4 separate regions of the Homo sapiens genome follow, and all the other regions are linked to region 1. The links are contacts of gene promoters, found by promoter capture Hi-C in human tissues and cell types (Jung and others, 2019). All regions are on one chromosome and are shown on one strand. The core of a region is centred on a gene start or on the middle of the fragment in contact, and the rest is flanking DNA. Distances in the headings are between cores, read along the strand shown. Region 1 holds the start of PRRX1 (paired related homeobox 1). Region 2 overlaps LINC01681 (long intergenic non-protein coding RNA 1681). Region 3 has its middle 44 kb from the start of LINC01142. Region 4 has its middle 83 kb from the start of LINC01142.

Region 1 (6,514 bases), core at 1,874-4,373:
TTCGTCCCCATCACCTCACTCTGCCTTCTGCGGCCTCCTCCGGAAGCTGTCTCTTGATCATGCTTCCGCAGAGCATCCTCTTTCTGAGCCTCAGTTTCCTTTCTGGGTCTTCTCCCCACAAGGCCTCTCTAGTCATTGTAACTCTGAGATGAGCCCGAGTATCACGTGGGCGAGTTTCTAGAGTCTTCTCCCCTTCTCCCGGGACATACAGTCCCCAATTCCGCCCGGGATGCTGAGCTTGTCCTCGAGCGCTCCTGAGGACTCCACGTGCTCCACAGGGCCTCTGAGGCGCCAGGCTCAGGTCTCACAGAAGCCTGTCCCCAGTCCAGGGCAGCCTCCCAGCCACCGCGCGTCGCCTCCGAATCTGCTCGGGGGCGCTCCATAGCTAGCTTCCTCTGGCCAGCCCGGCTCCATACCCACTCTAAGGCCACGACGAATCCCGAGCTCCCTTCTTGGGAGTGGCGTCCACTCAGAGCCAAACAACCGGTACAATTTTCATCCCTCTTCCCCTGCAGTATCTGAGGGCCACCACGGCTGGCTTGTTCCCTAGGCTGGCCGAGGCCGCTGGCCTTGGCCCTGGTTTTCTCATCCTCCAGCCTCCTCATAGGGCAAAGCAGCATCTAGTCTCTCCTGCCCCACTCTGGTCTTCTAAGCAGAAGTTTCTTCGTGGTCCTGTTTTCTGTTGTGGGTCCAGCCTCTAGTATCCGAACAGTGGTAAATGTTGCAATTAATAAGTCGTCCTGGCAAAACAGAAACGACTGGACGTGCAGAATTGGTGAAGCTGGGGTCTACACCAAATGCTGTTCTCCCTACTTTTTTTTTTTTTTTTTTTTTTTGAGACGGAGTCTCACTCTGTCATCCAGACTGGAGTGCAGTGGCACTATCTGGGCTCACTGCAACCTCTGCTTCCCGGGTTTAAGCGATTCTCCTGCCTCAGCCTGCTGAGTAACCGGGATTACAGGCGCTCGGCACTACGCCCGGCTAATTTTTGTATTTTTAGGAGAGAGGGGTTTCACCACGTTGGTTAGGCTGGTCTCGAACTCCTGACCTCGTGATCTGCCCGCCTCGGCCTCCCAAAGTGCTAGGATTACAGGCGTGAGCCACCGCGCCTGGACTCTCCCTACATTTTTCGTTTTTCATTTTCCCTGGTAAAACGTTTAAAAACAATCATAGTATTTCTCAGTGCATTTTGTTAGAACTAAGAGTGCCTATGCAAACACTTAAGTAATGCTGCGGGTGCAGCCTCTCAAGCACCCAAACCCTAAAGAGAACGTCTCTGTCTCTGCGCCTAGCCCTTTATGCGGAACTTGAGGACACCTGGTTCTTCATTCCTCAGAGTTGGCCACCTTTCTCTGGTGTCCAGGCCAGACTTCCTCATTCAGTTCCTGTAGCAGTCTGCTAATGCATTGGGTGGATCGGCCCTAGGCCGCTTTTGGCTAAAAACACCCAGGGGCGCCCAGGCCGGAACTAAGGAAGCAGGGTGAAGACCAGGCGTCTTGAGCACACCAGAGGCTCTCTCTGCGGCTTGCTGTAGCGTGGCCCGCGGGGCCACCACTGTGCCCGGACCCTGTTTCCAATTGTTTCTATGTGCAGTTTGATTTGTATGTCTATTCTTTGAGAGTCTGAAATAGGCAACGTTTTGTGAAAATCATAGAATGCTGGAGGGCCCCCCGGTTCCACGATTTCCAAATTTGAAGACAAAAATGGTAACCAGCAACTACTGACATAGAAAGCAACCAGCCTCATTTGAGAACTTACAGCTAAGTTCAGACTCTTGCAACCTCGAGGAGAAGAGGGAGTATCTGTACATATCTGGCCACATGTCACCTGGGATGAACAGGGTGACCGGTCTGTTACAGACTTGGGGGCATGGGGATACAATTGCAGTCTCTTTTTAAGGCACTAGCGAAGCGAGATTTTCATGGGTCGCGAGGTTGGTCGGTGAGGATGGGGAAGGGAAACTGGACTTTTCTGGGCGTTTAAGAGCCAATAGGGAGAGCTCCTCTAAGGTGACACTGGCCTCCGCACTGAAGCTCGCGCCTCCCGGATGCAGCTCGCCTGTGCGGGATCATGCGGGGCTGGATTTCAGGTTTCACCCTTAAAGGACATTCCCTTTGCTTGGCCCGAGTTTTCCCAAGCCAGCCGGGCTTTTGACTCTGCCAGTCTCAAACCCATTTGCGGTAGAGGCAACAGCAGGGGGCAGAGAGCAGCTCCAGCGTCTGGGGCCGGGCGTTCTCTCGGGGCCTCCCGGTCGCGCCCGGCCTTACGGTGCCCGCGTGGAGAGTGCAGCCTGAGCAGCGCCAAGTCCTGCTCCCTGTGCCTGGTGCCCTCCCTCAAGCCGTCATACGCTGCCCGAGAGAAGCCCTTCCAACCCGACTCAGCATCTTTAACCTGCTGCTTTCCCAAACAGCGCTGGCTCTCTGAGTTTGCACCCCGCTAAGACCTTTTCCCAGCCCAGCCCCGCCGCCCCGCGTGCGGGATGAACCGAGCCGGTGCCTAGCCGAAGTAAAGAGAGTCCGCCGCGGACAGAGTCCCTGCCTGAGACCGCAGGGCCTCGGAGTGTCCCCGGACCTTGGAGCCTCTCTCCAGCGTCCTCCTTGGCTATGCCCTCGGCCGAGACCCGCTTTTCTCATCTGGTTTCCCCTGTGACTGGCCCTTCCTTTGAAGTCTGCCATCACCTCTCCTGGTCCCAGGACCTTGTCTTTCTGGCCGCGGACGGGCTCTAGCTGCCCTACACGGGTCCCCGCCCTCTGTCCCGGGCACACACCCCCGTGGGCATGCGCCCCTCACTCACTGTCCTGCTGCGGGGTGTCGCTGCCGCTGGTGAGTCCCGGCGACTCCAGCAGGCTCCGGCCAGCCTCGCCCACGTTCTCATCCGCCTGTGCCGCCACCATGTCCCCGGCTTCCTCCAGGTCTAGCAGGTGACTGACGGAGAAGTTCTTTTTCGCCTGCAGGGTGTCGAGGTTGCCCGGGCTGTCCAAGCGGCCGCCCAGCGCCGGTTGCCGCTCCAGAACGTGCCCGTAGCTGGAGGTCATGGTCTCCCCCACCGATCCCACCCACCCCCCTCTTCCCGCTCGAATCAACACCAAACGCTGTGGGCGCGAGGGGGGAGAGGAGCCGAGTGGGGAAGAAAGAGGGGGGTAGTGGAGAGAGAGAGAGAGAGAGGGAGGAAGAGGGAGGGAAGGAGAGGAAGGCCAAAAAAAAAAAATTGGAAAAGAGGGTGGGGGACCCCCTTCTGTAGAGCAGAGCGTTGTGCACCAGCCGCCTTCCGCAGCATTGGTTGATTTCCTGAGGCCAAGTCCGGCGCGGTCCAAAGAGATAATCCACAGTAAAATACAATATTAAAAAGTCACCCTATGTTCAAGTCAGGAGAAAAAAATCCCTTCCAACTCTCCAAAAGTGTCCACACGCACAGACTAAAAATAATAACAAGGGGGAGAGAGGAAAGCGGAGGCCAGCAGGGCGGGGGAGTTAGGCAAACAGAAGAAGAGAGAAGAAGGGGTGGGAGAGAAGAATCAAAGTGAATGGTTTTTTTAAAGGTTAAAAAAGTTATTCCCAGGCAAGAGTTCAAGCACCAACAGAAGAAGGCTTGTTCCAGCTTTAAAACATCTTCAAGAAAACGTGTTCCCCCCTCTCTGCACTCCTGTGGATTCTCAGGAGTGACTAAAGTTTCAGGAGGAGAGGGTGATGTCTTGCAGATGTATTAGAGAGCAGGATTCTCACTTTACTTTTTGTAAAGAGTAAAAAAAAAAATTAAGAATTAAAAAAAAAAGGCTTCAAGAGTCCGACGGAGGGTGCTGGTGGGTTCCCCCCTTTCCCCTTCTCTCTCTCCCCCTCTTCTTGCTGGGCTCCTTTTTCCTTCTCAGTTGGATCAAGAAGCTCTCTGGCACTTCAAAAGGCACAAACTGGCATGCAGAGGAGGCTTTGTAGGGAATACAAGAAAATTGGAGACCCCTGGGAGGGCAGATCTCGACTTAATAGGAGCCTGTAATTACGTGGCAAAGCCTTTGTGCTGTGCCTGACGTTTCACAGACCCCCTTTCTCCATCACAATCTCCTTCTTCCTCCTTTCCCTGGGACCAAAAAACAGTCTGATTAAGAAAACCCCCTTTGCCAACATCAGAGTTAGAGAGAAAGGGAGAGGGAGGGAACAAGAGAGAGGGAGGGAGAGAGGGAGGGAGGGAGGGAGGAAGGGAGAGAGAGAGAGAGAGAAAGAGAGAAGAGAAATGAGAGAGGGAAGAGAGCAAGAGAGCCCCTTTGGATTTCTAAAGGTCTAATTATCATTCCCCTGCAATAATATCACGGGGAGAAAAGACAAACTGAAACTCACAGTCACTTCAAACGTGCTGATTATTTTGCTTCGGCATTAACTCCTCCAGATTTGTTTAAGATCCTGTTGGAAAATCTCATTTGCATGTTTTGATAACAGCTGTGGGGAAATTTGGAAAAAATCCACCACCATCACAATCAAATTTTCTTCTCCTTCTGCCTTCCCCCAAACCGCCCCCCCCCAAAAAAAAATTTTCTGCTGTTCTAACAGTTTGGGGCGGAGTACAGGGAGAAAGTAAGCATATTAAGGCTATTTTTGGTTCCGTAGAGGGAGCCTATTAAATAATGTAATAAAAATAACAAAAGGGATGATAATAGGAAGTTCTCTCACGCCTCTCGCAAGGACTAAAGGCAGGTTGGGGAGATCCAGAGGGCACCGAGTTTATTTGAGGCTTTCCCCGCCATTAGGCATACCAGGACTAGGGCAATGAGAAAAGTACGTGTTTATTAAACTGGAAGAAAGGACTCCAAATATATATTATAATCTTTCTCCCTACCCCCGCCAATTTTGTAACTTCTACGGTAAGGCCAAAGTTGCTTCCCCAGGCGAGGACGCTAAACCCAGAGGGTCCCGCTGCCCAGATTCCTTGAAGCAGGCAGGAGCACTCCCAGAGGCAGGAGTTGGGGAGGCTTCCGTGCGGTTCTGCGTCCAGCCTGGCTGTGGTGGCAGGAGGACAGAGAGGGGCGGAGGAACCCCCATCTAAGTCTACGGATAATCCTCTGTCGTCCGTCTGCGGAGCCCTAACCTGACAGAAGACAGAGAGGTGCTGAGCAGTTTTTTCATGACCTGTTGGAATTTGGTAACAGCTTTAACAGTCTCATTAGAAATGAGTTACTGTATGACGACTCAGTAAAATATTAAGTGCTTATTTGTGGCGTTTTATGTTCTTTAAACGCGCACTCACACACACACACACGCATCCGTACTCCCGCACTCCCTTGATTGCTAGACTTTTTTTTTTTTTCGTCCTATAGTCAAGAGGCTCGACTGGAGAGAAAGAAGGGTACGAGTGTGTGTAAATGGTTTCTGGGCTCCAAACGGCCATAGTTAGCCCAGAACTTCCAGCCCTGATCTGGGAAAAGAACATTTGATGCCATCAAAGGGCTGTAGATTGAAACCAGATGTGCTCGCCTCGGTTCTTTCCATGCATTTAATTAAGGAACTGGGATGGAGGAGACTTTTTCATCATTAGTCCACCCACTCCCCCCTCCTCTCGGCGGTCTTTCGCCCTCCCCCCACTCTCCCCGCCCCCACCCCCATCCCTTGGCCGCTCGAACCCCCGACCGGGAGCCCAGAGCCCTGCCAGCGCCGCACTGTGCGCCGCGCAAGTCGCTCGATCTCCCCAGCGGTACCGGCTCTAAGCAGTAAACATCTGTGCGCTTCTGAGCCAGGGACGCGCGTGGGGGGTGGGCGTGCACGCGGGTGGGCCAGCGCAGAGTGGGAGCTTGTGGGTGCTTTCCGTCGGGATTTCCAACTCAGCTGCCTCCGAGAGCCTAAGCTGAGCGCCGCACGTGCTCGTGCCATCTGCTGTACTGGACGCAGTCTAATAGCGCAGAGAGGTTTCCATCCGGCATCCAGTTCGATGTGGGCCGTTTTTCCCTTCCCAGCGGTCTGTCCTTGGAGCTGATCAGTCTCCCCAAAACCTCCCTAGAAATAGAGCAGCTCCTCGCCTCTCCCTCCTTTCGCACTCTCTATCCTCATTTACACAGTTGCGTTTTAACGTTGCTGTTTTTCCCCTACACATACCCAATTGCCCGTCGTGACAAAGGTGTGGGTAAGGGCTGGGGACTTTTGGCACCCCCAAGACACGATGTTCCCCCTAAAGATCCAGCGTCCTCAGTCATTTAGGGGGTCAGCGTCCTCAGATCGCCCTTTCGAGGAAATTGCCTTATCCGGGTGAATGGTCAATATGGTTGGGGAGCGAGGAATAGCTACAAGCAAGAGAGTTTATAGATGGGCATCCGGAGGCATACGCAGTCGGCTCCGCTGATATTCGGACGCATTCTCTAGAGGGACCGGGCGCTTCTTGAAAATCACCCACTTGTCATTCGTGTTAATATCAACCAGTACCACCAATACCAACTAGGATGCTAACGGTTTCAAGAAAAACACCGCACACATTTACTAATTTATGGACTATATATATATTATATAATATACACAATGTATAATATGAATGTATAAT
Region 2 (6,514 bases), core at 4,015-6,514, 460 kb after region 1:
TATAAAGAACTTTCTATATTTCAAAGTACTATCACATTCCTGTTTCATTTCTTCTTTACAGATTATTCTATTAAAAACTATTGGCCAAGCACAGTGGCTCATGCCTGTAATCCCAGCATTTTAGGAGGCCAAGGTGGGCAAATTACTTGAGGTCAGGAGTTCAAGACCAGCCTGGCCAACATGGTGAAACCTCATCTCTACTAAAAAAAAAAAAAACAAAAATTAGCCAGGTCATGGTGGCACACACCTAGAGTCTCTGCTACTTGGGAGGCTGAGGCAGGAGAATTGCTTGAACCCAGGAGGTGGAGGTTGCAGTAAGCCAAGACCATACCACTACACTCCAGTCTGGCAACAAAGCAAGACACTGTCTCAAAAAAAAAATGATTTATTATATGTATTTGTCTGTTTTCATGCTGCTACAAAGATGTACCCAAAACTGGGTAATTTATAATGGAAAGAGGTTTAATCGACTCACAGTTCAGCATGTCTGGGGAGGCAGGGAAACTTACAATCATGGCAGAAGGGGAAGTGAACACATCCTTTTTCACAGGGTGGCAGGAAGGAGAAGAATGAGAATCAAGTGAAGGGGGAAGCCACTTACAAAACCATCAGATCTTGTGAGAACTTCCTCACTATCACAAGAATAGCATGAGGGAAACCACCCCCATAATTCAATTAACTCCCACTGGGTCCCTCCCACCACATGTGGGGATTATGGGAACTATAATTCAAGATGAGATTTGTGTGGGGACACAGCCAAACCATATAATTCCACTCTGGACCTTCCCAAATTTCATGTCCTCACATTTCAAAACACAATCATGGCTTTCCAACAGTCCCCCAAAATCTTAGCTCATCCTGGCATTAACCCAAAAGTCCAAGTCCAATGTCTCATCTGGGACAAGGCAAGTCCCTTCTGCCTATGAGCCTATAAAGACAAAAGCAAGCTAGTTGCTTCTTAGATACAATGGGGGTACAGGCATTGAGTAAATACACCCATTCCAAGTGGGAGAAATTGGCCAAAACAAAGGGTTTATAGGCCCTATGCAAGTCCAAACTCCAATGAGACAGTCATTAAACCTTAAAGTTCCAAAATGATCTCCTTTGAAACCATGTCTCAAATCCAGGTCACACTGATGCAAGAGGTGGGTTCCCATAGCCTTGGGCAGCTCCACTTCTGTAGCTTTGCAGGCTACAGCCTGGCTGCTTTCATGGGCTGGCATTGAGCACCTGCAGCTTTTCCAGATGCATGGTGCAAGCTGTCAGTGGATCCATCATTTTGGGGTCTGGAGGATGGTGGCCTTCTTCTCACAGCTCCACTAGGTAGTGCCCCAGTGGGGACTCTGTGTGGGGGATCTGACCCCACAGTTTCCTTCCACACTGCTCTAGCAGAGGTTCTTTACAAGAGCTCCACCCCTGCAGCAAAATTCTGCATGGACATCCCGGCATTTCCAAACATCCTCTGAAATATAGACAGAGGTTCCCAAACCTCAATTCTTGATTTCTATGCACCTGCAGACCCAACACCACATGTAAACTGCCAATGCTTGGGGCTTACACCCTCTGAAGCAATGGCCTGAGATGTAGGTTGGCCCCTTTTAGCCACAGCTGGAGCTGAAGCAGCTGGGACACTGGGTACCAAGTCCTGAGGCTGCATGGAGCAGGTGGGCCCTGGGCCTAGCCCACAAAACCATTTTTTCCTCCTAGACCTCTGGGTCTGTGATGGGAGGGGCTGCCATGAAGGTCTCTGACATGCCCTGCAGACATTTTCCCCATTGTCTTGGTAATTAATATTCAGCTCCTCATAACTTATGCAAATTTCTGCAGCCAGCTTCAATTTCTCCCCAGAAAATGAGGTTCCTTTTCTATTGCATTGTTAGGCTGCAAATTTCCCAAACTTTAATGCTCTGCTTCCTCTTGAATGCTTTGCCACTTAGAAATTTCTTCTGCCAGGTACCCTAAGTCATCTCTCTCAAGTTCAAAGCCCACCGATCTTTAGGCAGGAGCAAAATACTGCCAGTCTCTTTGCACAGCAAAAGTGACCTTTACTGTAGTTCCCAGCAAGTTCATCATCTCCATGTGAGACCACCTCAGCCTGGACTTCATTGTCCATATCACTATCAGCATTTTTGTCGAAGCCATTCAACAAGTCTCTAGGATGTTCCAAACTTTTCCACATCTTCCTGTCTTCTGAGCCCTCCAAGTCTCTAGGAAGTTTCAAACTTTCCCACATTTTCCTGTCTTATTCTGAGCCCTCCAAACATTCCAACCTCTGCCTGTTACCCAGTTCCAAAATCACTTCTACATTTTCAGGTATTTTTACAGCAGCACCCCACTCTGTGCAGTACCAATTTACTGTATTAGTATATATACAGCAGCACTCTCATGCTGCTATAAGGACATAACTGAGACTGGGTAACTTATTATATAAAGGAAAGATGTTTAACTGACTCACAGTTCAGCATGGCTGGGGAGGCCTCAGAAAACTTACAAACATGGCAGAAGGGGAAGCAAAGACATCCTTCTTCACAAGAAGGCAGGAAGGAGAAGAATGAGAATTCAGCGAAGGGGGAAGCCCCTTATAAAACCATCAGATCTTGTGAGAACTTACTCACTATTACAAGGATAGCATGGGGGAAACCACCCCCATGATTCAATTATCTCCCACCAGATCCCTCCAACCACATGTGGGGATTATGGGAACTACAATTCAAGATGAGATTTGCATGGGGACACAGCCAAACCATATTATCACATAAGCATTTTAATTATCTTATCTCAATTAACTTCCAAATTTTCACAAATGCAAAGTTATGTTTCATACTCTTAAATTATAAATTTAAAGTTTAATTACAACTTTGATTATTTCAACCTTTCTCCCCCAATATTTTTCATCTCTCCTAGAGAGGTTTTGGCTAAAAGCATGGATTTGGAGTTAGAGATACCCAAAGTCATATTTACTTGGCATGTAAATGGATAAATTACTTATTCCTTTCTGATACTTCATTTGCTTTTCTGAAAATAATATCTAGGTCCATTACCAAGATGTGTTGAGATGACATAAGTAAGAGGCTTCACTAAACCTTGACACAGAGTGAAAACTCAAAAAATATAGAGAAAATGGAAAGAAGGAAGTGAGGAAGAGGAGGAGAAAAGCGAAAGAGAACAAAAGAAAACATGAAGAGAAGGAGAAGGATAGGCAAAAGAAAAAAGGGGAAAAGAAGTGGAAGAAGAGACAACAAAAAGAAGAAGGAGGAGAAGGAGGTAGGGGACAGAAAGAAAGGACAAAACAGAATAGGGAAAAAAGAGTAAGAAGAACAAGAAAGTAAGAGGAAGAGAAAAATGATGATGATGCTGATGATGACAATGACAATTATGATGAGGAGGAGGATGTTTATTTTAATACAGGGATGAACACTGAGAAACAGAAAGGTTGAAGTGTGTTTTAAAGCCCAGACAAAACCCTAATCATCTGCAACTTAATGCAATGTGATTTTTCCCCAGAAAGCTTTGGTATTACACATGGTGACTCTCTCTTATGCAGTTTGAATCTGGCTATTCCAAATATTACTACAAAAAAATTACTATTTAGTTAAGGAATATAACACTTGGGTAATAATCCTCATATTTCAAAGAAATGGATGACTCATTAAGATTCCAGTGCAATCAAAGAACCTGGAGAAATCCCTGGAGTTAGTTTTAGTCAAATATGAGACACAGCTAAATTAAATGAGTAAAAAATAAAATAAGTGATTCATTGAGTTTCTTATATAATCACTAGATGCTCTCCTTCTTCAATAATGGCAGAACAAGAGGAAAGAGCCCCCTTTTTTTCCTGACATAAGAGAGAGGCCCTCTTGACAGTGAGGGCTGATAAAAGCCCCTTAGTTACCATCCCACTGGTTACAAGTCACTTCCTACAGAAAATTTAAAGCACAGTCAAGTGTGGGTAAAGGGCAGTGCAAATGAATACAGGTGGAGAACTAGAAAGATCTCTCAGAGGACTTTCTAGGCCAACGCTTTTGTACTGCAGTCAATTCTCATTTGTTTTCCATAATGGAGTATTGGGGGAGGGGGAAGTGAAAACCTTTTACTTCTTTAGGTTTGCTTGTGAGCATGAGTCTCTCTTTGTCTTCTAATCTCTCTGATGCTGACATGGGTCCTGCATCTGTAGCATTCTCCTTCTTGCTATGAAAAACACATGCAGCCTTTCCTTCTGTCTGTACTTCCTGATCCACTCTACTTATGGTTCCAGCTTTCATTAACATGCACTGAAGCCTGAGACTTTCTGAATTTTCCAAGTGCCATAATTCTACTAGCCTCCCCTACATTTTAGGTTGCATTATCACTAGCAACCATTTCTCAGATACATTCATAGATATTGTTGCTAGTTCTCATCTTCCTTCTACAAAGTTAGAGTTTAATCTAATGCTATCCCTTTATCATCATCACTGTAACCTTCACCCTCTAGCTCAGATGCCATTACCTTTGCATTTAAGATTTCACTTTGGAATCTTGTTACCTTGCATCACAATTCCAGTAGAACGACTTAACCCAAAAAAGGCAAAAAAAAAAAAAAAAAAGGAAACTCTTGCATTGGCCTGAATTAATAATGGAGAAAGGGGAGAAGTCTAATCTTTCCAGTGCAGAAGATGTGTGCATTGTTTGTTGTGAGTAGCCCTTGGGGAGGGAAAGATTTCAAGTTCAGCATTTATGTGGCACATTTTTCAATTAGACAATATACTGTATGGTATTTCCCTTCCTCCCCCAACCCCGTCTCTTTTATTACCACATGATTTCATCTCCCCGTGTGACTGACAAAGCCCATTGGGCTCAACACTGATAAAAAACATCTGTGGGAGAAAAATTGCAATTTAGAAAACAATTAAGTACATCATTTTCTTTTCATTTAGTTGGCTAGAGAAAGAAAAGTTCTTTCAAAGAGGTAACTTGATCTACAATGATCATGGATTAAAGGACACGCAGATCTGTTTTCTCCAGGCTGTAGTGTGGAGGAATGCATCCTAACTCAGAGGGCTACATGTAGACATACACCTCTAAGTTGCAAGTTTTAAAAAAGAATAAACTACTGAGAGTTTCTCTATGTCTCTGATGTCTTCTGATTTTTAAGACATTCTTCTATTCTTATTGAATTTGTGAGAACTTAAGAGCTTCCTTAAAGGATGTGTATTTCCCTCAGTCAAATGCTCACCATATGCTCATTTGTTATGGGAACTCTGTAAGTGAACCTTGGCTTACTGTTACAGACCCTATCTGAAAGACTGAGGGGTGGGGTGTGTGTGCATGTGTGTGTGTATGCTGACTTTCCCTTTCATTTTTTCCTCACTAGTTCTGTGAGAACCCATGAGTCCATTACTCTGAGCTCAGAATCTTTATGAACCATGGCCTTATTTTTTATCTGCAAAATCTTAAAGAAAAAATTTTAATACCAACAGGATTGATTCTGGGTGTCTCCTCCCTGGCCAGAAGCATATGTCTAGGTAAAGATTATAACCACTGCTCTCACTCACTGAGTATCTACTATAGAAGAGTCACTGTAATTCACACCTTGATTAAAATATCTCAGTTATTTGTCACATCAATCCCATTAAGTAGGTGTTGCCATTCCTATATTTTACAGAAGAGAAATTGATAATCCTCCTATTTTAAGCACTAAAATGCTTACCCACAGAAAACAAGAATGATTTGAACTCATATTTCTCAGCTTCTTAAGTTCAGGCTCTAAATAACAAATCCAGAAAATTAGCAGCTAGGAAATAAACTCTAAAAAGTCTGAGCCATTGATAAGTCTGAAATGAAAGTTTTTTGCCACATTTAAATAAGGAACATATAAAAAGTAACTATTTAGTACCTGGCCCAAGGTAGTTCTTTAGTGAAACCATCTCTACCCATTCCCTGCCTCTTATCTTTTCTCAAACTTCATAGTGCACATAAGATTATCATGTACAATAGGCCCGGCACGGTGGCTCACGCCTGTAGTCCCAGCACTTTGGGAGGCCAAGGCAAGTGGATCACCTGAGGTCAGAAGTTCGAAACCAGCCTGGCCAACATGGTGAAACCCCGTCTCTACTAAAAATACAAAAAGCTAGCTGGGAGGGGTGGTGTGTGCCTGTAATCCCAGCTACTTGGGAGGCTGAGACAGGAGAATCGCTTGAACCTGGGAGGCAGAGGTTGCAGTGAGCCAAGATCACGCCACTGCACTCCAGCCCGGGCAACAGAGCGAGACTCCATCTCAAAAAATAAAAAATAAAAATAAAAAAAAAAGGAAGTGTATCAAGTACACTAGTGAGGCTTTATTACAGTCCCCACTTATCATCACCTCTCTGTTCTAAAGACTTAAAAACAAGATCTGGAAGCAAGCATTTCATGCTATTGGTTGAGAAACAGTGACTATTAGGAACCCCCATTCAAAGAAGGGGCCAATCAGTGGAAAAGGTCCTAAGGAGACCTCACTCGTTTTCTTTTAAAGTTTGTCTTGTGAACCAGCATAACA
Region 3 (6,514 bases), core at 2,953-5,452, 340 kb after region 1:
TTTGCAGACTTCCACCATGGAGCCTGAGTGCAGGATGTAGCTAACAAGCAGTGAAGGGAGAACATCGTACAGCAGGTAACTGAGCAGGAACAAGGCAGCCCAGTGGGCCAAACACAGGATTAGTTTCACACTCCTGAGCTATCTTGGCTTGGCTGTCACATTGCTTGGGGACATGCAGGAAGCTGCTTCATTTCTAAATTTCACCATCTGTGAGATGGGGTTGTAATTTTACCGAATTCACAGGGGAGCTCAGGGGCTTACTACACTGCTTTTAAGTTAAGGTTTTGGAGAAAATTTGCTATTTTCGGAAGCAAGAGACTATAAAATAACAAAATGTATTTATATTTTTAATGTACAGTTGATTCTGATTATTGGCAGATTCTGTACTTCTGTACCTATTCACTAAAACTAATTTGTAACTGCCAAATCAATATTTGTGGCTCTTTTGTGGTCATTCACAGACACACATAGGCAAAAGTCTGAGTCTCCTGATCCACAGGTTCCCACCTGAAGTGGAATAAGATGATGTTCTGTGTATTCTTTCCATGGTCTATTTAATGCCATGTTTTCTGCATTTTTGTACTTTGTTGGTGATTTTGCTATTTGGAATGGCCTCCAATTACGGTGCTAATGTACTGTGTAGTGATCCAAAGCACAAGAAGACTCTAATGTGCCTTGCAGAGAAAGTATCCCTGTTAGATAAGCTCCATCCAGTCATGATTTGCAGTGCTTTTGGCCATGATTTCAATGTTAATAAATCAATAGCATATATTAAATAAGGTATTTTTAAACAAAAACATACATAAAACAAGGTTATTTATTGATCAATTGATCAGTTGATAAAAAAAAAAATGTGCTCAGAGGCTTGCAGAAACCTAACTCTGTATTTCCTCTAGGAGCAATGGTTCAGTATTTGCTATTCATTTAGTGTTTGAGGCTACTGTATAGAACACACTTTCTGCAAATAATGAGAGTCAACTGTAGTTATTATTGATTATCTTAAATGTTTCCCTTAGACAAATTACCTTTAGGGATGCAGGAGGGTTTATCTGTCATTTCATCCAACTCCATAATTTTACATTAGAGAAAATGAGGTGTCAAGATGGGACTTGATCTCAGGCCTCAAGAATAGACAGAGCCCTCAAGGCCATCTTTATATGATTAGACTACACTGGCTTTCCTGAGTAGACATGGGGAAAATGACTGCTTTAGAAGGTGCAGTTTCATGGGGTTAGATAAAAGAGTGATTTCCTGTTTGGCTCATGCTTCAGGCTTCATGTCCAGCAGTGTCTGTTTTTCTGGTGATGTTTAGATGCTGGAATGCATATCTCATACGTTTGTGTTTAAAAAAACAAATGCCCTTGCTCCATGTTTGTGGGTGGCACTGTGCTATGGCAAAAGACCCATATCAGGGAAATGGGATCAATATTTATAGAAAGCTTTTTTTCCTTTTAAATCACTAGTATTAGTCTAGACATGTTATTTATGCAATTAAGTTAACAAAGCTTCGTTCTTTATTATATTTTTCTCCATATTCCAAGGACAAAGTAGAAGTCAATTATCTTAAACTAAGGCAAAAGAGATTTGGTTAACACTTAGGCCAAACTAGGAGACTAAGAGAAAGATGAGTCATGGGAGAAAACGATTGTACCTAGAGACGTTGAGGAAGCATAAAGATGACCGGGTGCCCTGAATGACATCATAAACTCAACAAGCATTTGTGGATCTTCTAAGTGCAAAGCATTTTGCTTTGTGCTATAATATTCATCTTTTTAGGTCCATATTATGGTAATACTATTATAATTTCAAATTCATTCTGATTGCCAATCAATTTGGGTATGATGGGATAACAATAAATAGGCATGATTTATCCAAAATCATGATCTATGCGTTGTCTCTAATCTTTTTCTTGGTATCATCCTTTTTTTCCCCAATATATGCTTGGAAATGTCATTCCTGGAAACATAAAGAGCCAATAAACCAAATGTAGTAGCTTCTCAGTATAGAAATTCAGTGTCTAAGAATGAGAATCTAGAGTCAAGTCCTTGGGCAAGATCTAGAAGCCAGATCAACCTGATCTGTTCCTTGGCATGTGAGCATTTCTTTTGATAGCCCCAGGATAATCATTAGGTAATGTGATTGCAAGTGGAAGACAAAAAATAGCCCAAGTTTTAGGTGCACTGACAAAGTATGGGGTAAATTTAGAGCTGAGGCCTGCATTGTTTTATTACTGAGTTTTCTTCTATAATTTGTATAAATTATACAGGCATAATTTGTCAAACAGCACTAACAATCAATTGCCATTGGTACAAAGAAGTCAACAGATTTTAATCTCCTAAGAAAAATTAAAGGAGGGAATTAACACTGAGCACTTACCATGTACCTTACACTGCTCTGGACTATTCTGTATTACATTATTTAATTCTCATACAAACAGTTGAGATGGGTGCTTTTACCCCAATTTTATAGGTAAAGAAACAGAAGCAAAGAGATTATTTAACTTTCCTAAGATCACTAAGTAATGGAGCCAGCTTTCAAATCCAAGGATACCTTGATCCAAAAGCCATTCTCTTTACCGAATAACAGAGCTTCCCTCTTGTTCGTATATTTTTTGTATAATACTTGGACAGTCCGGGCATTGTCTCTCATTGTGTGATCCGCAGACCTTATGTGTCAGAATCATCTGGGATACCTATTAATGATGCAAATTCCTGGACTCCATTCCTGAAATAGGAGTCAGAATTTCAATGGGTAAGTTTCCAGAATCTGGTTTGCTAACAAGCTTCCCAAGTGCTCCTTATGCACTCGGAAGTTTGAGAGACAATGATCTGCATACTCATACACTTCAAAGAGGGTAGAATAATAGAGAATATCACAAAGCCTGCGCCAAAGATACTGATGTTTGTAGCAGGTGCTATCAATGCCCTGTGCATATCCCTGGGCCTTAACCATGTCATTCAGGCAGCGAGCTTCAGCTGTCAGTATCTTATGCATTCTCCTTGGGCTTTTCCTCCAAGACTTGGATAAAGGTCTCTTTGTATACATGGTAGACAAGCAGTACCAGAGAAATAACTACTGTACCCTCTGCCACCTGCAGTTCTTAACCAATGGCTGGTAGGAGCTGAATACTTGGGCGGAGGAGTCTGAGGCTTGTTTTCTACACCGTTTTCCAAAGATTCCCCTGTAAGATTAAGTTTCTGTTATCCACAGTGGTCGTTGTCTTAATATCTGACCTTGTGTTTGCTGCCTTCTCTTCTGTCTCACTCCTATAGTTTTTTATCAATTTTTCCAGTTTGACCCTTACATACTGCTTGCATTTGAATCTTTGTCTCTCAGTCTGCTTCTGGAGAAACCCCAAATAGGAAAATAATTAGCTAAAAACTCTCCAATTATAGCATCTTCTTCCGTGTGTTGGGCTGCCATGTTTCTTTCCTTCTTCCTTCACTGAGACAGCTGCTAACTTCTGGACTAATTTCAATCATCTGGCAGGTGTTTCTTTAGAAAACACATGCCAAATGCTGTGTTTTGTGAATCAGCACCTATGTTTTCTAAATCAGCTCTCTGGCCTCTTCTCAGCCCATCACATCCATCCATCCTTCATGATAAAGTGCAAAGAGTATAAGATTATGAATGCAGCTGAAACTGGGTTCAAATCCTGATGTTTCTGTTTACTGGTTTTGTGACCTTCACAAGTTTCTAAGCATCTCTGGGCTTCCGTGTTCTCATATGTAAAATAAGAACAAAATCTACCTCAGATACTCAGTGAGAGGATTAAGTAAAAGAACATGTGAAGGTATGTTTGTTCTCTCCCTTCCTTCCTCAGGTCTCATAAATTTTCTGAAGACTGTCATCACTCTAGTTCCTGGTGATCTATTTCTCCTTTATCTGAACTTGATGGCTTTTATTGATCATCCAATTCATGTTGATATTCATGAAAAATTAACTAACAATACCTAGCAATAACTAATATCTAATGTCCTCCCTACAACAAGATTGTAGGTCTCTTGAATGCAGCTGTGTCTTAAATTTATTTATATTCCTCTGGCCTTACATATCAAGGATATTTGATAAATTCTTTTGTTGATTTGTTAACCATCAGTGATTATTAGCAATCTCTAACTCAATTATCTATAGTTGATCTTTACACACTTCAGTCTGTATAGCTGGCACCAGCTACAGGCAGTTATAAACTCCTATGGGCCTATAGAGGGAACTTAAAACAAACATCCTATTCTCCCAATGAGGGCTTAAATTTCCAGAAAGTTCAGGACATGAGTGATGTGCAGGTTGGCAAGACATGTTTTTGCAGAACTTCTTGTCAGACATGAGGGGCATGGAAGAACTGAGTTCTGGCTGGAACCCTTCTTCAAATGGATATAGTGTTTTGGAGGAGGCAAGGAGTTTTGAGAACACGGTATTCTTTGTGCAAAAATTGTAACTTGGCTTCTCCCTACTCAACTCTATACTAGAATCTGGTCCAGTGAATATTTATTATTTACCTGCTTCCACCCATCATGCCCAATCCCTACATTATATCACCAATATTTATTACTGCATTCTGGAAGGCATCATTAAAGCTCCCTTTTATGTTGTTTCGTAAAAAACACATGTGACACCTTATTCTTTTTTGGTTAGAGTTCTTTCTGCTTCTCCTAATAAATTATCTTTGCAAAATAATTTCTATGAGTTCTATTTAAATTTCAAATGCTATTTCTTTCCTTTACAAAGTCTGGTCCATGTGCAACTTTCCAACTTTGTTTTATATTCTGTAATTTCTGGAGGCACAACCAAACCACAAGTCTCCTTTGAATATAGTGGAAACAATCAAGTATTTAAATTATCATCAGTAATAATTATTACCAGTATTATGAAAAGATGTCTTTGATCCTGCCTCCTTCAGTGTCTCCACTTAAAACTCAAGAGACTTTTAAAAATGTTACTTCTTTTCCCCACCGTTCCCTTCTCCAGGCCTTAAACATTTTTTTCTTCTTGGAACTGTGATCCTATTGCCTGACATTCAAGTTAAAATTGGAAGAAAGATCACAGTTTATAGAAGGAAGAAAGCTTAATGATCCATGTACACTTAGCCACATCCATTTCCTTTCAGAGCTTATACTGATAGGTAAAAGCATCCCTCAGTAATTAGGACAACATATATTCCTAGTCCCCAGCTTCAGAATCTTCCTGTCACAGAGCCATTACATGTGCTATATTTGATGGCTTCTGAAGTACGTCAAACCAGGCAAAGTGTGTGGACTTCTCAAGGGTTAGCCAAAATTGTCCACAGGCCATTCAGAGGTAACAAAGGATATCACCCTGCTTAAACAAAATCCAGGGAGCTTTTAATGGGAGTGGAGCAACCATAGATTTAGCACTGAGCACAACCACAAAGGCTGAGTAATATGAATAGTAGAGTTCTGAAGAAGTTGAGCCTGGTTTCAATATCACACTCTGGTCTTACAGTCCAGCAAAGAGCAATAAGTTGAAGTTTGGGAAAATGAACTACAATCTGGGGAACATATGAAGAATAATCAGGGAGTGATTTATAATACTCTTCTTGGCAATGAGGAAAGTGTTGCGTGAAGAGCAATATACAGAGGTATCTATCTTGTCCTATTGTGGTCTGTGCTTTTTTTTTTTTTTTTTTTTTTTTCATTCAGCATTTGGATACTAAACCCAGGTGTCAAGTATAATGACAGGCACCATGTTCATTTAAATGAAATTCCAGACCCTCCCTCGGTCACTTTTTGAAGTTGTCTAGGGCAAAGAACTCTTTGTCTAAATGAAGCTTGCATTACTTTTCCACCCTGTAATTATAAAGGCCTTTTTACTCCCATCCAACTGGAGTTGAGATATTCAGCCACACTGTCTTGGGAAGCATTCTTCATAAAATATAAAAATGACACATTGTTAATAAATAAAACTTCAGAAAAGATGAGATACACATTCCCTAAATGTTAAACCCTACTTTTGTGGCCACTAGAAGAAAAACATCTATATGAAACCTTGTTTTTTACCTCAATCACTAGGAAGAATCAGAGTATTTTTAATTGATGGAGGAAAGAATTTATAAAATCAAGTGATCCTTTCTCAGAAAAGAGACAGAGAATTTTAAATGCCAAAACCAAATTATCTGATCTCTTCAAAAAGATTAAATTGTTTTACTTCTGATCTTAGGGAAAATAGAATTCATACTTACTTTTTCCACTTTACAAACTTTCTGGTTATTTAATCCATTAAAGGAAAAGTTACACTTCTTTTTGTTTTTTGGTGCATGTTCTCAAGTAATTTGGTAAAATGATTAGATCCAAAAGGAAGGAGAACGAATACACATTCCCCTCAGAGAGGTTCTGGTTCTTCATAGAGATATGTGTTTACAAGTTTTTAAGGCTAGACTGGACGGAAGTCATGGACATCTGTCTTAGACATCGATTCCTGGTGCCAATAACTAATTCCTTCCCAGAAGTCTTTGTGTTTCCTCACTGTGATGGTGCTTGTGATGCTTTCAAAGAGC
Region 4 (6,514 bases), core at 1,982-4,481, 300 kb after region 1:
CTTGAGAGCTTCACCTGCCCCAGTATTAGAATCCCAAGAAAATCAAAAGGTATTTGGGGATTTCTGCTCACCTGGAGAAGGGATGGAAATACTTCAACAAGGCATGGAAGGAAGTTCGACTGCATAAGACAACGTGGTTGAGGTCTGAGATTTTACATGGAGTTATTCAGGAGTTGCTTGTGGACTACTGTGTGAAGATACAGGACACAAATTTAACTTCTGAGGACAAAAATTTCATGAGACCCTTGAACAGCGGCTACTCATAACTGAACTGACATGGCTCTTAGGTCCTAGCCAGGAGAGGGAGATACCTTCACTGCTAGAGCTGGAGAAAGCGGACCTTCTGGAATCCATGCCACTCTCAGACGATTTTGTGTGGATGAGGGCTCTGCTACAGCAAGAAGTGGAGGAGTAGCTCAAGAAGAAATGTTTCACTCTGCTCTGGTACTATGATCCCAATTCAGATGCTGACAGTGAAACCGTAAAGGCAGCAAACGTGTTGAAACTTGCAGAGGTCCTAGTGGCTAGGAAGCAGCAGTGCCAGGATGCCAAGAGCCAGCAAAAGGAGCAGATGGTGCTGCTGGAGAAGAAGAGTGCCACCTACTTCCAGGTGCTTCTCTGCTGCCTCATTTTGCTGCAGAGGCTTCTTCAGGAACAACGGCTGAAGACTCACTCCGAGTTAGACCACATCAATGCCCAGTACCTGGAAGTCAAGTGTGGTGCTATGATACTTAAGCTGAGGATGGAAGAGTTAAATATTTTGTCCAACACACTGCTGAGAAAGTGGAAGTTCATTGTCCGATTAGGGACCGTTTGGAGGGAGCGATTCACCTACGGGAGCAGCACATGGAGAAGTCAAGACAGGTCCTGAACTCCTATGAAATACTTGGGGAGGAGTTTGACAGACTGGTGAAAAGAGTCCACCCTACTCAAGCAGGCAACTGAGAAGCGGTGGGCCCTCCAGGAGTTCAACAAGGCCTACTGTTGATCTCTGGCAGGGCCAGGAAGCATGGCTTCTGCACAGCTGCTGCCTCCTAATCTTCCTGCTAGTAGGACCACGTTCACCTGGGGCTGCCTTCGCTACAAGGGAGTGTGGGAACGTTTGCACTTGCTTGAAAGACTGCAGTCGTTTAGGCACCCTCCTGGTTTTTCTTTCTTGTTTATAATGACTGGGCCTCTTCTGGAAAATCTAGCAAGCAGATTTATATAATTTTTATGCATGGCTGTTTGTCTGTGTCAGCCCTGTATATTTGATTATCTCCTGAATAAAGTTATGATATTATATCTTAAAAAGTGTTTTGTTTATTTTAAAAATGTTGTCTTTACAATTGAAATTAAGCGTTCTTTATGTATTTTGTATAAGTTCAGTATCAGATATAGCTTTTGAAAATATTTTCTTTCAGTCCATGGCCTGCCTTTTTATTTTCTAAATGTTGTTTTTTAAAAGGCAAATGTTTTATATTTGATAAAGTTCAATGTGTCTATTATTTCTATATCGTGTGTGTGTTTGTGAGCATGTGTCCAATCTAAGATATCTTTGTCTAGCTAGAGGTCCCAAAGATTTTTCTTGCATATTCTTCCAGAAATGTTTTGTTTTTCACACTTACATTTAGGTCTATGATGCATTTTGAGTTAATTTTTCTGTATGGTGAAAGAAAGGGTCAATGTTCACTTTTTGATTATACCATTTGTTGATTAATGAATACATTCCCCATTGAAATACCTTGGCACTTTTGTCAAAAATCACTAGGAGAGACAGAGGCAAGATAGCTGACCAGATGCAGCTAGTATGAGCCCCTTCCACAGAGAAGGACCAAAATAGGTCCTTCTTCTCTACCAGGAAGCAGATAATCACAAATCTAAGAAAGGACACTGGAATTCAACAGAGAAGTGACAGGAAGCACTGAAAACAAAGAAGGAGAGGGAAGTGAGGCAGCCTGCTCAGCCAAGATTGCCTGGGAGTTGGGAGAAGCTCTCAGATGCAGGGAAATGGTCAGTGAGACCTTCGGGGCTCCAAATTCTTGTCATGAACTTCAATTCTAGGCACTGGAGAGCCCCTCAACCCTCATGAGCATCAAGACTAACATAGGGAGCTGCCTAGAGATTGTACAAAGGCATTGTTTCAGAAAGGGAACTTAGGCTGAGTCCCACAGGCTTCTGAGCCTTGTGCAACTGTAACATTGTATCATTCTGAGAGCTCAGCCCCCAGAGGACTTTGTCCTACCCTGGGACCATCACTGCCATAGCTGCCACTGGGCCAAGGAGAACAAGAGGAGGATGGGTACTTTCTTCCGAGGACAAATCCCACCACTACTGCAGACTATTGTGGGGCCAAGATGTGAAGAAACTGTACACACCACAGCTGTCTGCCCGTGCTGCTCCCACTGAGAGTGGCACTGCCCTCCCTGGTAGCAGGCCCACAGCCAGTGCCATTTTGACAGCCCAGCCTCCAAAGCACTGTGATCTTCCCTGGGGCCACCAGGCCAAAGAAGGAGAGAGAAAGCTGGGCACTTTAACAAGCCCCGAGGACAAATACCACTGCCACTGCTATAGGCTGCTAAGAGACCAAGGTGTGAGCAAACTGCAAGCTCCACAGCTTACTGCTTTAGCTGCTCCCACTGAGAGTGGCCTTGCCCTCCCTGGAGGCAGCCTGCAGTGCAGCCACTGCTGCCCAAACCTGACAATTCTGCCAGCAGCCTAGGAACCATCTGCCCCTGCCTATCACAGCCACTGCCTGAACACACTTCCAGGGAACCTGAGGACAAAGTTATCAACTCAGTCCCATTTCCCTACTACTCTAGCATGCCATTTAGGGGCCTGGGGGTCTCTCAGCCCAGTTCATCACCAATGGTACCTGAACATTCCTCTTGGAGTCTGAAGCTGGGCTGACCCAACCTGTTGATACCACCACAGCTGGCAGTCACCCACATGAGCCACCTGCAGGTCAGCAGACTGGCCCACCCAACTTATCACAACCACCACCAATACCAGAATGGACTACCTGGGGTCCAGTGGGTTGCTCCACCACTGCTCCTGCCGTCACCCACATCACACCACTGCCTGGAGACCTAAGAACCCACCCGCATGCCTTGCCCACAGCTGCCACTACTGGCCTACCTGGACCTGCTAATACCAGTGGCAGCATACATCACTCTGAGGCTCAAGGACAGGTATGCTCAACCCACTGTTACCACCACTGGGGCCTGAAGACTGGCCCACCAGGCATCTTAGAACCCATAAAAACTTCATCATAGCCTCCACTAACAACTACACCCTAAGCCACTAAGGAAATCACAAATACCACTGACCCTGTTCACAGATGAAGAAATCACACAGAGACTACCTTACTGCATACACCCAATATCAAAGCCAGAGTGACCTACTCAACTGCAAACAGATATACATCTTCAGGAAAAGTTCTGCCCCATGAAATCAAATTAAAAAACTTGAAAGAAGTGTCTGTTACACCAAATGTGCAGATATCAATGTAAGGATGCAGGAAACATGAACAAGTAAGGAAATACAACACCTCCAAAGGAACTCAATAATTTTCCAGCAGCAGATCCCAATTAAAGAAACAAAATCCCAAATAAAGATGCAAAATACCGATTTTAAAGAAGCTCAATGAGACACAAGAGAATTCTGAAAAAAAAATTTAGAGGAATCAGAAAAATGATTCAGGTCATAAAAAAAAATTGCCAGAAAGATAACTATTTTAAAAAAGAATCGAACAGAAATTCTGAAACTGAATAATTCATTTACTAAAATGCAAAATATGTGTGAAAGCTTCAAAAATAGATGAGACCAAGCAGAAGAAAAAATCTCAGAACTTGAAGACTGGTCTTTTGAAATAATCCAGTCAGAAAAAGGTAAAGATAAAATAAAAAAGAATGAGCAAAGCCTTTGTGACATTTGGGACAACACAAAGTAATGGAATATTTGAATTATCAGTGTCCCTGAGGGCAAAGAGAGAAAGGAAAGATTAGAAAACCTATTTAACAAAATGCTAGATGAAAACTTCCCAAGTCTAGCAAGAAACTTAGATAACCAGATACAGGAAGCTCAAAGATCCTCAAATGAATACAATGCAAAAAGTTCTTCTTGATAGTACATTGTGGGCAAACTGTCTACAACCAAAGACAAAGAGAGGAGTCTTTAAAATGTAACAGAAAAGCATCTACACCTTTTTTTTTTTTTTTTGAGATGGGAGTCTTACACTGTCGCCTGGGCTGAAGTGCAATGGGGCGATCTCGGCTTACTGCAACCTCCACTTCCTAGGCTCATGTGACTCTCCTGCCTCAGCCTCCCAAGTAGCTGGGATTACAAGTGCACACCACCACACCTGGCTAATTTATTGTATTTTTAGTAGAGATGGGGTTTCACTGTGTTTGCCAGGCTGGTCTTGAACTCCTGACCCTGCGATCCACCTGCCTCAACCTCCCAAAGCGCTGGGGTTATAGGCGTGAGCACCACCACACCCAGCCCACATCTATACCTTTTAAAGAACACCCATCAGACTAATAGTGAATTTCTCGGCAGAAACCTTACAGGTCAAGAGATAATGGAATGACATATTCAAAGCACTGAAAGAAAAATATGCATGACACTATGTCAACAAAATTACCCTTCATGAATGAAAGAAAAATAAAGTCTTTCCCACACAAGCAAATGCTGAGAGTATTCATCACCACTAGGCTGGTCTACAGGAAATGCTCAGGGGAATTTGAAGCTGAAAGGACAACATTTGCCATCATGAAAACACATAAAAGTATAAATTCAACAGTAAAGCAAACACACAAATGAGAAAGAGAAATAACTCAAATGGTACCATTATACATAATCACCAAACCACGAAGACAATAGAAAAAAAGGAAAGGAACTAAGAATATACAAAACAACCAGAAAAAAATTAACAATATGATAAGAACAAAGCCTTACATATCAGCCATAACTCTGAATGTAAATGATTAAATTCTCCACTTAAAAATATGTAGACTGGCTAAATGGATAAAGAAGCATGATCCAATTATATGCTTCCTACAAGAAACATACTTTACCTGCAAAACACATATAGACTCAAGTAAAAAGAAGGAAAAAGTATTTCACACAAATGGAAGACAAAGATGCAAAGCAAGACAAAGCAAGCAGGAAAAACTATACTTAAATCAGATAAAACAAACCTTAAGAGAAAAACAGTAAAAAAATGAAATAAAAAAGTCACTAAATAATGGCAAAGAGATCAATCCAACAAGAAGAAATAACAATTCTAAATAAGTATGCACCAAACACTGGTGCACCCAGATTTACAAAGCAAATATAGCTAGATCTAAAGAGAAAAATAGACTCCAATGCAATAATAGTGGGGGACTTCAACACTCTACTTTAAGAGTTAGACAGATCATCTAGACAGAAAATCAATAAAGAAACAGGATTTAAACTGGACATTAGACCAAATGGACCTAACAGACATTTACAGGACATTTTGTCCAAAAACTACAGAAGATACATTATTCTCATCAGCACATGGAACATTCTCCAGGATAGACCATATGTTAGGCCACAAAATATGTCTCAAATTAAAAAAAAATCAAAATTATATAAAGTATCTTCTCACATCACAATGAATAAAACTGGAAATCAATACTAAGAGTAATTTTGAAAACTATACAGATACATAGAAAGTAAACAACATACTCCTGAACCTCCTTTGGGTCAACAAAGAATTAAGAATGAAGAAATTAAGATGGAAATAAAAAATGTTCTTGAAATAAATGAAAATGGAAACAAAACATACTCCAACCTGTGGGATACAGCAAATGCTAAGAGGGAAGCAATAAATGCCTGTATAAAAATACCTATATAAAAGTCAAAATACTTCAAATAAACAACCAAACATGTACCTCAAGGAACTAAATGGAGCAAGAGCAAACCAAACCCAAATTAACAGAAGCAATCAAACAATAAAGATCAGAGCAGAACTAAGTGAAATAGAGACTAAAAAACAGAAACTAGGTTCTTCAAAAAGGTAAAAGAAATTGAAAAACCACTAGCTAGACTAACCAGAGAAGACCCAAATTTTAAAATATCAGAAATGAAGAAAGGGAGACATTACAAAAGACACCACATAAATATTAAAGGTCAATGGAGATTATTATGAAAAAATATATACTAACAAACTGAAAACCTAGAGGAAATGGGTAAATTCATAGAAACCTATAAACTATCAAGATTGAATCAGAAAGAAATAGAAAACCTGAATCCACCAATTATGGGTAGCAAGATTTAATCAATAATAATAATAAAAAAGACAGGACAGGAAGAATGCACAGTCGAATTGTGCAAAACATATAAAGAACTATACCATCCTCCTGAAACTATTCCAAAAACTCAAAGTGAAGGAAACTTTTCCTAACTCATTCTATGAGGCCAGCACTAATCTGATACCAAAACCAAACAAGGACACACACACACACACACACACACACACACACAAAGAGAGACAGAGAGAAAGAAA

The links. The method cuts DNA at HindIII sites, captures the fragments that hold promoters and counts their contacts. A contact is called where the count stands out against the background at its distance.
Region 2: a fragment that was not itself captured here is called in contact with the fragment with the promoter of PRRX1 in region 1 in 1 of the 25 tissues and cell types used here (stomach).
Region 3: a contact is called between a fragment that was not itself captured here and the fragment with the promoter of PRRX1 in region 1, in 2 of the 25 tissues and cell types used here (adrenal gland and bladder).
Region 4: a fragment that was not itself captured here is called in contact with the fragment with the promoter of PRRX1 in region 1 in 2 of the 25 tissues and cell types used here (hippocampus and thymus).

The regions. Positions count from the first base shown.
Region 1 is chr1:170,660,740-170,667,253 of GRCh38, reverse strand. PRRX1 (paired related homeobox 1) reads right to left here and starts at 3,123. Exons shown (of 4, transcript NM_022716.4): 1 at 2,795-3,123. The coding sequence starts at 3,035. RefSeq lists enhancers at 1,630-2,490, 3,691-4,218. The HindIII fragment of the contact is 17,405 bases long and covers 1-6,514 here.
Region 2 is chr1:170,202,616-170,209,129 of GRCh38, reverse strand. The region is part of intron 1 of LINC01681 (long intergenic non-protein coding RNA 1681); the gene reads right to left. Among named protein-coding and RNA genes, the nearest start is that of LINC01681, 31 kb to the right of the region's middle. The HindIII fragment of the contact is 7,588 bases long and covers 1,471-6,514 here.
Region 3 is chr1:170,325,358-170,331,871 of GRCh38, reverse strand. No RefSeq gene overlaps it. Among named protein-coding and RNA genes, the nearest start is that of LINC01142, 44 kb to the right of the region's middle. The HindIII fragment of the contact is 4,115 bases long and covers 2,145-6,259 here.
Region 4 is chr1:170,363,697-170,370,210 of GRCh38, reverse strand. It overlaps the pseudogene HAUS4P1. Among named protein-coding and RNA genes, the nearest start is that of LINC01142, 83 kb to the right of the region's middle. The HindIII fragment of the contact is 8,294 bases long and covers 1-6,514 here.